Regions from separate parts of the Homo sapiens genome. Here all the other regions are linked to region 3. The links are contacts of gene promoters, found by promoter capture Hi-C in blood cells and fetal thymus (Javierre and others, 2016). All regions are on one chromosome and are shown on one strand. Each heading gives the region's core, a stretch centred on a gene start or on the middle of the fragment in contact. The rest is flanking DNA. Distances are from core to core; before and after follow the strand shown. Region 1 overlaps ZNF227 (zinc finger protein 227). Region 2 overlaps ZNF227 (zinc finger protein 227). Region 3 holds the start of ZNF234 (zinc finger protein 234). Region 4 has its middle 9.5 kb from the start of ZNF223.

Evidence for each region. The method cuts DNA at HindIII sites, captures the fragments that hold promoters and counts their contacts. A CHiCAGO score of 5 or more calls a contact.
Region 1: a fragment that was not itself captured here is called in contact with the fragment with the promoter of ZNF234 in region 3 in 3 of 17 cell types (naive CD8 T cells, fetal thymus and naive B cells); the score reaches 5.6 in naive CD8 T cells.
Region 2: a contact is called between a fragment that was not itself captured here and the fragment with the promoter of ZNF234 in region 3, in 9 of 17 cell types (total CD8 T cells, naive CD4 T cells, naive CD8 T cells and 6 more). The highest score is 8.3, in total CD8 T cells.
Region 4: a contact is called between a fragment that was not itself captured here and the fragment with the promoter of ZNF234 in region 3, in 4 of 17 cell types (fetal thymus, naive CD4 T cells, activated CD4 T cells and 1 more). The highest score is 6.3, in fetal thymus.

What each region holds. Positions count from the first base shown.
Region 1 is chr19:44,235,127-44,237,826 of GRCh38, reverse strand. It overlaps ZNF227 (zinc finger protein 227), which reads right to left. Exons shown (of 6, transcript NM_182490.3): 6 at 559-2,700. The coding sequence ends at 997. Among named protein-coding and RNA genes, the nearest start is that of ZNF233, 23 kb to the left of the region's middle. The HindIII fragment of the contact is 792 bases long and covers 1,005-1,796 here.
Region 2 is chr19:44,216,255-44,218,954 of GRCh38, reverse strand. It overlaps ZNF227 (zinc finger protein 227), which reads right to left. Exons shown (of 6, transcript NM_182490.3): 3 at 1,103-1,164. The coding sequence starts at 1,162. Among named protein-coding and RNA genes, the nearest start is that of ZNF227, 5.1 kb to the right of the region's middle. The HindIII fragment of the contact is 758 bases long and covers 907-1,664 here.
Region 3 is chr19:44,140,290-44,142,989 of GRCh38, reverse strand. ZNF234 (zinc finger protein 234) reads right to left here and starts at 1,436. Exons shown (of 6, transcript NM_006630.3): 1 at 1,257-1,436; 2 at 623-676. RefSeq lists enhancers at 949-998, 664-1,254, 1,009-1,408. The HindIII fragment of the contact is 9,485 bases long and covers 1-2,700 here.
Region 4 is chr19:44,041,104-44,043,945 of GRCh38, reverse strand. No RefSeq gene overlaps it. Among named protein-coding and RNA genes, the nearest start is that of ZNF223, 9.5 kb to the left of the region's middle. The HindIII fragment of the contact is 1,557 bases long and covers 600-2,156 here.

The sequences.
Region 1 (2,700 bases), core at 151-2,650, 95 kb before region 3:
TGTCTGCATAGTGTGCCACTGGATTGGTAAAGCACAAAATACTTTGGCAATCCAAGTATTTCTATGTTTGCTACTAAAACAATGATGCACCGACTATCCTCTTTTCTCTTTCTCTTGCTCTCTCTCTCTCTTTCTTCTTTATTTATTTGAGATGGAGTCTCGCTCTGTCACCAGGCTGGAGTGCAGTGGCGCAATCTTGGCTCACTGCGAACTCCACCTCCTGGGTTCAAGCGATTCTCCTGCCTCCGCCTCCCGAGTAGCTAGGACTACAGGCACGTGCCACCATGCCTGGCCAATTTTTTGTATTTTTAGTAGAGATGGGGTTTCACCATATTAGCCAGGATGTTCTCAATCTTCTGACCTTGTGATCCGCCCACCTTGGCCTCCCAAAGTGCTGGGATTACAGGCGTGAGCCACCGTGCCCGGCCATACTACTATCCTTTAATACACCTCTACAGCAGATATAAATTTACTTCTGAAGATCAAAGATTCATCTCTGGGGATATATTCCTTAATTTTACACCTATATACCATATAAAAGAATCATGAGTCCTTAGCTACAGAAAATTTTTAGTAATTTTATTCATTTTTCATAGCTTTACAGCTTTTATGAAAATAATGATCACTGTAAGTATAAAATGAAAATTAAAGAAAAGGGATAATAACCCAAAACTCTCCCTGGCCAAAAAACCAGTTAGCATATGGCAAATATCCTTCCACACATTATCTTCAGGCATATATTCACAATGAAAGGTGATCATTTATATTAACTAGATCTTACCAAGAGAGCCACCAGCCCTATTTCTCCCCTAAATACGAGTTCTATTCCTGTTCATGGTTCTGTGTTATCATCTTGATGGATTTGTTAGAAAGATTCCAAGTGTGAACAAACCCCCTTCCACTCTCAGTAGTTTTACAGGGTTTACCACCAGCATGGACTAGCCAAAAACTTGAAGATGTGCATTCAGACAAAAGTTGGTAACACATTTCTCATTTCTAAAGCTTTTTACCAGTATGGACTTTCTGATGATATGTAAGACGTGAACGGTGACGGAAGTCCTTATCACATATGTCACATTTGTATGGTTTTTCTCCAGTGTGGACTCTCTGATGGGCTTCAAGACGTGCACTCTGACTGAAGCCTTTACCACACTCTTCACATTTAAAGAGTTTTTCCCTGGTGTGAACACCCAGGTGGACTCGAAGATTTGAGGGGAGACTGAAGGCCTTACCACACTCCTCACATATATGGGGTTTCTCTCCCGTGTGGACCCTCTGATGATGGCGAAGATTCAAGCTCCTACCAAAGCCTTTCCCACACTCTTCACATTTGTAAGGTTTTTCTCCAGTGTGGCCTCTCTGATGGTATATAAACTGCGAACTGTATCTAAAGCCCTTTCCACACACATCACATTTGTATGGCTTTTCCCCCGTGTGGACTCTCTGATGGGATTGAAGACCAGAGGACTGACTGAAGCCCTTACCACAGACACCACATTTGTATGGCTTCTCTCCAGTATGGACTCTCTGATGTACCCGAAAATCTATGGCCTGACTGAAGCTCTTATCACACTGCTCACATTTATAGGGTTTTTCTCCTGAGTGAACTCTTTGATGTGCATGAAGATTTGATCTCCAACTGAAGCCCTTCCCACATTCCTCACATTTATATGGTTTTTCTCCAGTGTGAATTACTTGGTGTAGTTTAAGATTTGAACTATAACTGAAGTCCTTACCACACACATCACATCTATATGGTTTCTCTCCAGTGTGGACTCGCTGATGGGTTTGAAGCTTTGAGGACTGACTGAAGCCCTTCCCACACGTTTCACACTTGAATCGTTTCTCCCCAGTGTGGACATTCTGATGGACTTGAAGATTTGAAGCCTGACTGAAGCCCTTACCACACTCCTTACATTTATAGGGTTTCTCTCCCGTGTGAACTCTGAAATGAATATGCAGATCTGTATTACGGGTAAAGCCTTTCCCACACGCCTCACACTTGTATGGCTTCTCTCCTGTGTGGACTCTCCGATGGCATATTAATGGTGAATTGTGGCTGAAGCCCTTACCACACACATCACACTTGTAGGGTTTCTCTCCAGTGTGGACTCTCTGATGGATGTGAAAATGTGCAGCCTGAGTGAAGCCCTTACCACATTCCTCACATTTATAGGGCTTCTCACCCCTGTGGACCCTCTGGTGAACACGGAGATTAACACTCCAACCGAAGCCCTTACCACACTCTTCGCATTTGTATGGTTTTTCTTCAGTGTGGACTCTCTGATGGCACTGAAAATTTGAACTTTGACTAAAGCATTTACCACATTCCTCGCATTTATAGGGTTTCTCTCCAGTATGAGTTCTGTAATGAATGATAAGACCCGTGCTGCTACTGAATCCCTTGCCGCAACTGTCGCATCTATAAGACTTCTCTCCTGTATGATTAGATTGATAAGAATGAAAAGAGCTCTTATTGAAGCAATCACCAGATTCATGACATCTATTGAGTTTCTCTCCTGGGTGAATTCTCTGATGAGTTCGCAGATGTGAGCTTTGACTGAAGCATTTTTCTCCTGTATGAACATTCGGATGAAGGGGAAGCCTTGGGCTATAACTGAAGCCCCTTCCACACTCACCACATGGATGGGGTTTCTCTCCTAAGGGTAATTTCTGATTGGAGCCATCACTAATGATTTT
Region 2 (2,700 bases), core at 36-2,535, 76 kb before region 3:
GAACATGCCATTGCACTCCGGCCTGGGTGACAAGAATTAAACTCTGTCTCAAAAGAATAAAAAGGTAACATCAGGTACTTCTATCATATGTGCTCATCTCTGTGAATGGAAAACTCTTTTGTTCTGTCTGCCTTTACATGAAAATAGAATGCCAGATATTCCTAATAGTTGGAAGCTTCAGTGTCCAATGAGTCAGCTACCTGGGAAATTTGGGGCAGTTATAAAATGTTCCCATAACCTGTTTCTTCATATTTAAAATGCAAATAAATCATCTCCATCCTCACATCTGAAAAATGCAATGACAGATGGAAAGGGCTAGCAAGACATCTAAGTACTACTAGACCTTACGTACATGTAGTTACTTTGATGAAATAAATTCATACAAGAAATAAATGAGTGATAAAAACATAAACGGGAAAAATATATAGCTCTTCTTCTCTGAAAGCATCTAATAAAATTACACCATGTCATTCTTTAGATGTTCTGTTTACAAAACACCTGAGGGAACTGACATGAAACTGAGACATAAACCTCTTCAATGCAGAGTTCCTAAAACTTTAAGGACAAATAATATTGAATTCCACCAGAATTTCTTTTGAAGGAATTGTTTTTATATGTAGGGAAAAAAGTCACTGGATTTACTTTAAAGTAGTAAAATTCTTAAAATTTCTGAATTTCTGAAAGGCTAAATAAGAAATAGTTTTTGTTGTCTTTTAAGGGCACTGCAATTCAATGGCATATGATGTACTCACTTACAATGCAGGTGATGCAATTAAGTGGAGAATGCACAATTGAAAATTTCATCTACTCAAGTATTGCAAAATGTGTATGAAAAAGGAACATGGGAAAATGAAAAAAGCTAGTTCATAAGCAGGGTAGTAGCATAGATTATTTCTGATTAAAGCTTCTATTATTTTTTCAAACACTGTTTTGTAAAATAGTAAAGGTGATAAACTAAAACAAAAAAACACATACATGTCAGCATACCACATGTCCTGAATATCTGTTTCCCACTAACCTTTCCAAGAAAGAGAAAAAATAAATCTGTTATCTTTGAGAAATAAATCACATTTTAAAAGACAGCAAGGAATCCTTTACGTACCTGAAACTTGGTCATTTTCTCCTGCTTCTTCTGGGGAAGGTCATAGTTCTGAGATGGCATAACTGGGGGAGACCAAAGACGCCATGAGACACAAGCCTGCTGTTAGCCCATGTGTACATATGAGGAAATTAGAGAAATAGCCCTACATTCAGACAGGTATAGCCACATACAGCTTGGTAAGCAGAACATGGACTGTATTCCAGCTACTAAATGGCATGATAGTTCAGTGCCATTGGGCAGTGAACAGTCTGCACAAGTGCAGCATCCTTGCTACAAGGATTTCTGATGGCAGAGACAGCAGGAAACGAGAGGCAATGTAACAACATATGAGGGCTCTCAAGTCAAGTATCTGGGTTTAATTCCTAGAAATGATACTTACCAGCTGTGTAACCTTGGGGATATTAAAAACCCTCTCTGTGCCTCACTTCTGTTATGTGTACAATGAGGATATGGTAAGAATCATAAATCGTACCTCCCTCATAGGGTTTTTCCAAGGATTAAATAAGTAGATGGAGAGTTCTAAGAACCAGGAGTCCCTTTCTCTTATAGTTACAAAAAAGCTTCTTCATGGCTTCTTGCTGTTTAGCCAGGCCTGGCACAGTGGCTCATGCTTGTAATCCCAGCACTTTAGGAGGCCAAGGAGGGAGGATCACATAAGGTCAGAAGTTTGAGACCAGCCTGGCCAACACGGCAAAACCTCATCTCTACCAAAAATAAAAAAAATCAGCCAGGCGTGGTGGTGCGGGTCTGTAATCCCAGCTACTTGGGAGGCTGAGGCATGAGAATTGCTAGAACCTGGAAGGTGGAGGTTATAGTGAGCCAAGATCACGCCAATGAACTCCAACCTGGATGACACAGTGAGACTCTGTCTCAAAAAAAAAAAAAAAAAAAAAACAAGCAGATGATACTTTGCATCACACACTTGCCTTGCAAATATTGCTCTCCTATGAAAGTCACCTTTAATTTCTGAAAAGCCGAAATCTGACTTAAGGTTTCTTTTTAGTAATTTGTTGCCCAGCTAGTAATATTTTACTGACACTGTTATCAGTTTTCTAAAACGTATCATTCTGGGTCAATTTACTTCATGAAGCCTGGAAACGATCATTGGTACATCTCTTTTATTTTATGTGCACAGAGAAAAACACACAGCAAAGAGAAAGATAAAGCACAAACGAAAAATCAAGAAACATGAAAGATAAATTGAGAGGCTTCCGTATTTGTCTAACAGGAATGGGAGAAGAGAAGGCAGGATGGAGGGAATGACTGAGAGGTTTTAATTTCAAGATGCAATTGCTGAGAATTTCACACAATTGGTAAAAGATACAAGTTCGCATATAGAAATTCTAAACAGTATAAATAAAAATAAACATACCCTAAACAAATCACAATAAAACTCAGAAATGCAAAAGACTAAACGAACATAAAGAACTGGAAACAACAACCTTAAAGCTCCTAGAAAGAAAATATAGTTGACCTAAAAGAAATAACAATTAGATTGACAGAAATAGGGTAACAGAATGGAGATTTAAAACAAATGAATATTACCTCCAAAATAAAGAAACTGTCAACCTGAATTCTATGTTCAACTAGATGATTAT
Region 3 (2,700 bases), core at 187-2,686:
TGGATAAGCAGATAAATAGAAAAACATTGAGAAATGTATAATAAAAATTTTGTAAAACATTTATAAGTAATATAAACATGGAACCACTAAAACAAAATGCATTAGAAATTTAACCATTACTATCTTTACATCCTGATTTCATAGGTAATTACAATTTTTGTATCTTCGTATTTCTGTAATTTCTGAATGCTTCACAGTGATACGGTTCTATTAGAATGTGAAATATTTGTAATAAATGAAACAAAATAGTTGACAGTTTTTAAAAACTGAGAAAACTCCAAGGCAATTAGCCTTGCTCTTAAGGTCCTTTAATCAAGTTCTAACTTACTTTCCCCACCTGAGTACAGCTAGTTCCTCTGCCTCAATGAGAATATATCCAAGAGATGATCAACTCGGGCTCTGACCCTGAATGCCTAGGTTCCAACCCAAGTTTCACCTCTTACTACTTGGATGACCAGTACCTCTCCACAGAGTCACGTTGCGGCTTAAACGTATCTAATTGTATAAATCCCCTAGAATTGAAGTTAGCAATTAAGGCTTAATTATTATAAATGCCCATGCCCTATTACACATGCTACAAAGATACAGTCTCTGTAAAAGAAAAATGACAAGTCACACTCACGTGGAGCTTTGCTTTCAGTAGCCAAGAAGTCAGTCCGCGCAGTCCTTTTTCAGGCTGGGGAAGGAGAAAGCTGTGAAACATCCTGACTGGGTCGCTGTCCCTGAGAAAAGTTAAATGCTCCCCTCCCTTCGTGGAAGTGGACGCAACCCTCGCCTGCCTAAAAAGAGGTCAGAAGGCGTCCGGGATCGTCCAGCGTCCTGCAGGGATCAGAGATAAGGGCTGAGGCCCCTGCTGCTGGAGCTCTGACCCCACCGGGGGACCTAACAGGTTTCGTGGGAAAGTAACAAGAAACCACCACTCACCAAGTGACAGGGACTGTTTGTGTTGTGTAACCTATTCCAGTTACCAAAACGATTCTACAAAGATGGTCCTAACGTCCCCATTTTAAAGAACAGCAAGGAGAGGCCCAGGGAGATTAACACGCCAACCTTGCACTGTAAAAAAGTGACTGCGCGCCTGGAGTGCAGGGAGGCGGAGTGGGCGAGCTCAGAGCCCCGGAAACCCTCAAACCAGGCGAGACGCGACCCAACCAAGTCCCAATGCCCCCCGCCTCCCGCCGCGGGACACGAGGGGAGCCCCAGCCCAAGAAGGCTCCGCTGACACAACAAAAGCCGCCGCCCTCGCCCCACCAAACCTCTGCTCTCCCACGAGGCTTCTTTTCCCATAACCGGACCACCAGGTCCCAGCGAGCCCCAATCTTAAGTCCCTGACATTAGGAGGGGCCCGCGAGTCGCGGAACTGGAAGAAACTACCGTGGAATGTGCCGTGACAATCGCCCCCTCTTCCCTGGAGCGGAAGTGCCCGCGACTCCACTGATTGGCGGGACTACATTTCCCAGAATTCCCCGGATCCCCCTGCGTGGGTCAAATGGACCACGACTCCACTGAGCGTTTGGATTACACTCAGAATGCTGAGGGAAAAACGTTCAGAATCTCACCCTTCAGGGAAAAGCGATGGGACTCCGCGGTGCTCCTTGCCTACGATTCCCGCACTGCCCATGGGGAACGAATCCTATATCGCTGAGCGCTTGGTAGGGAATGTGGACTGTGACCCTGAGAGTCGTCCTTCCCTCTGCCTGAGTCCTTGAGCGAAAATATTGAATAGACAGCAATTCCTGAAGTCTAAACGCCTCCCAGGACTACGGAGGATTATTGGAAAGAGAACAAGCGAGGAGATACAATCTTCAAGGACTAAATGGGGAATGACTTTTTAGGGGTCAGTAGATGATTGATGATTGATTACTATAAACTGATAATATGAGGCCAAAACTAAAAGTTGGAAGAGTGAGCAAGTACAATGGTTTGGGAGAGGCAATGAAGAACAAAGAAGGTGCCAGCCCCTACTCCAGACGCTGTGGTACCACTGGTTTGGCAGGAAAAACAATCATCATTTGAGAGGGCCAGTGGGGAAGCCCTGTCCTCATGGAAAAGCTATCTTCTTTCGTTTACACTTTTCATGGTATTATGTCTACTGAAGAGGTAAAAACACCAAATTTCAGAGAAGCTCTTAAATTGCCCAATACTTCAAAGCAAGTATAACTGGTGAAGCGCTTGGCATTGATGTCAGACACCCAATGCCTATGATTTATTTAATGCAGTAGCATTAAGGAGGATCCTATACGTGAAGGAACATATTTTATTTTCTTCCTTTATATTTTTTGGTTAAAATATCGTCATTATAGTTAGCAATTTGGAATCTGGCTTACATTGGTTGATACAAATAAATAATAGAATAAAGCAAAATCAGAAAAAAACCCATCTAAAATCTTTCTTCAAGATAACCAGGGGCTGGGTGCGGTGGCTCACGCCTGTAATCCCAGCACTTTGGGAAGGCCAAGGCGGGCGGACCATGAGGTCAAGAGTTCGAGACCAGCCAGGAGAACATGGTGAAAACCCATATCTACTAAGAATACAAAAATTAGCCGGGCATGGTGGTGCGTGCCTGTAATTCCAGCTACTCGGGAGACTGAGGTAGGAGAATCGCTTGAACCTGAGAGGCAGAGGTTGCAGTGAGCCGAGATCATGCCACTGCACTCCAGCCTGGGCGACAGAGCAAGACTCTGTCACGGAAAAAAAAAA
Region 4 (2,842 bases), core at 129-2,628, 99 kb after region 3:
ATTATATATCTACATTAACCAAGGCAGAGTAATATTCTCTGAGTATAGACACACGGATCAGTGGAACACAATAGATAACCCAGAAATGACCCTAACCAACTATAACAAAATGATTTGTGCCAAAATGCTAAAGCAAATAAATAGAAATGGGACAGTGTTTTCATCAAAGACTGCTGGGAAAACTGAACATCCATGTGCATAAAAGAAAAAGAATCTGAGACTTTATTTCAAAATTAAGTCAAATTGGATCATAGATTTAAATGTGAAATATCAATGTAAAATCATAAAATTTTAAGAAGACAGTGTAGGAAAACTGTCAGTACCTAGAGCTTTGTCAGTGTTTGCAGATCTCATATCTGACGAAAAATTTATATCTACAATATATAAACAACTCTCACAACTCAACCATAAAATAGTCTAAGAAGAAAAGGAGCAAAAAACACAAAGACCCAATTCACTTAAGAAGAGTTATGGATGGTATTTGAACACAGAAACAGATACTCACAGCATTAAATAAAATACACTAAGATTAATGATAGGTGATGAGCTAAAAAGAAAATAGCAAAAAAAAAAAAATCTCATGATGTTTTTAAAAAGCTTACAAATTTGTGGTGGGCCACATTCAAAGCCGTCCTGGGCTGCATGTGTGCCACTGGCTGGACAAGTTGAGCTAAAGGGTGTTATGCTGAGTAAAAAGACAATCTGAAAAAGTACATAATACATGATTCCATCTATATGTCATTCCCAAAATGACAAAATGTAGAGATGGACATCAGATGAGTAGTTGCTAGGGGTAATGAATGGTAGGGACACAAGTTGGGTTGACTATAAAGGGATACTTCAAGAGAGATCTTTGTGGTGATGGAATAGTTCTTTCTGTATCATCACTGCCTTGGTGATTCCATTAAATCTACATGAAATACGACAAATAAAAGTGGTATACACACACATTGTACCAATGTTGAATTCCTGGTTTTGATATTTTACTAAAATTATGTAAAATGTAAAATGTAATTAAGAATGTAGATGGAAGACTCGGGGTTTCTCTGTACTTCCCTTGCAATTTCCTGTGAATTTCAAATTATTTCACTACAAAAAGATAACACAACTGATTATTATCAATCCCTGCTTTTCTAAGGAATGTCTTTTTTTTTTTTTTTTTTTTTTTTTTAAGACAGAGTCTCGCTCTGCCGCTCAGGCTGGAGTGCAATGGCGCCATCTCAGCTCATAGCAACCTCCACCTCCCCTTGCTATTCTCATGATAGTGAGTGAGTTCTCATGAAATCTGGTTGTTTGGAAGTGTGTGGCATTTCCCCTTTGCTCTCTCTTTTCTGTTCTAATGTTTCTTCTCCTTCACCTTCCACCATGATTGTAAGTTTCCTGAGGCCTCCCAGTCATACTTCCTGTCAATCCTTGGAACTGTGAGTCAATTAAATCTCTTTTCTTTATAAATTACCCAGTCTCGGGTAGTACTTTATAGCAGTGGGAAAACAGACTAATACAGCTTATTACCCAATTTCACTCCTAAGTATACACCAAGAGAAATGAAAGCTAAGAGATGTGATTCAGAAGAGAGCTCATGTTGTATGATTTCATTTACATGAAATATTCAGAATGGGCAAATCTGTAGAAACAGAAAGTAGAATAATGGTTGCCAGGAGCTAGTGGAGAAAGGATGAGGATTGGGAGTGACTGCCAATGGATAGGGGATTTCTTTCTGGGCCGATTTAAAAAACCTGAAATTAGAGAGTAGTGACAGTTGCACAACTTTGGGAATTTACTAAAAAACCACTAAAGGATATATTTTAAAGTGATGCATTTTATGATATTTGAATCATTACTCAAGTTTAAGCAAGGTTGGACTGGTTGGCCTAATAGTATTTTGGGGCCTGTGTAACCAAGCACCTTAGCTTCAAACTACATTTTAAAGACCGTCTTTTCTTTCCCACTTCTCCCCAGTCTCAAGACGTAGCTTTGAGACAAACTACAGATGTGTTTTCTTTCGTGTTGAAATACAGCCTCCAAATCTGCTTTAAAACTCCACTCCCTTCTTTTTCCCACCTTATGCTTCCATGCCCTATACACATTTATTTACCAGGATGCTTGTTAAGCTCACACCGCGCTCACTTATCTGCTCACATATTTCCTTAGAAGCTTCAGGGGAAGAATACTGATGAGGATCAGGCAGCTCTGGAATTCTCTCCTCCTGGCTACAGATGAACTGCAAGATTGACAGTCCATTAATTTATAACCTGATTGAGCCCATGATCGTGCTGGCCCCTTCACCAGATGCAACAATAATTCAAGATCATCAGAGCGAGACATGCCATCAGGTACCTCCTAAACCCCCTTACCTCTCTGCATTCCAAGCCCACTTCTTAAACTGTGGCCCTCTCTCCAGAAATTGAAAAGTGGCAACTTTTGGAAAAGATTCCAATCACTCTTTCCCTTGCTAGCAACAAGTAATAAAATTCACTCTTTTTATCACACTTTCCTGTTGTTATTTTGGCTTTTTTCTATAAGAGATAAGCAGCTGGACCTTCTTTCACTTATACCAATAGCCCACTCACCTATCATGAATTGGTATATTCCCTTCCCTCACAACACATTGAAAATACTTCTACCATTACACTCACCACAATGCCCAGAGTTAATGCTTCACAGATATGTCTACTCACTGCCCTGTATAACCTGACAGCAATGCTTAGAAACCAAGAGCATAATTATACACAAAGTATCTAAAGCATAATTTGTAATGAGAAATTCCTTAATTCCAAAGTGTGAGAATAATTCAAAAATCAAAAACATGGAGGTCAGCATTATTCTAATAAAACATCACTCT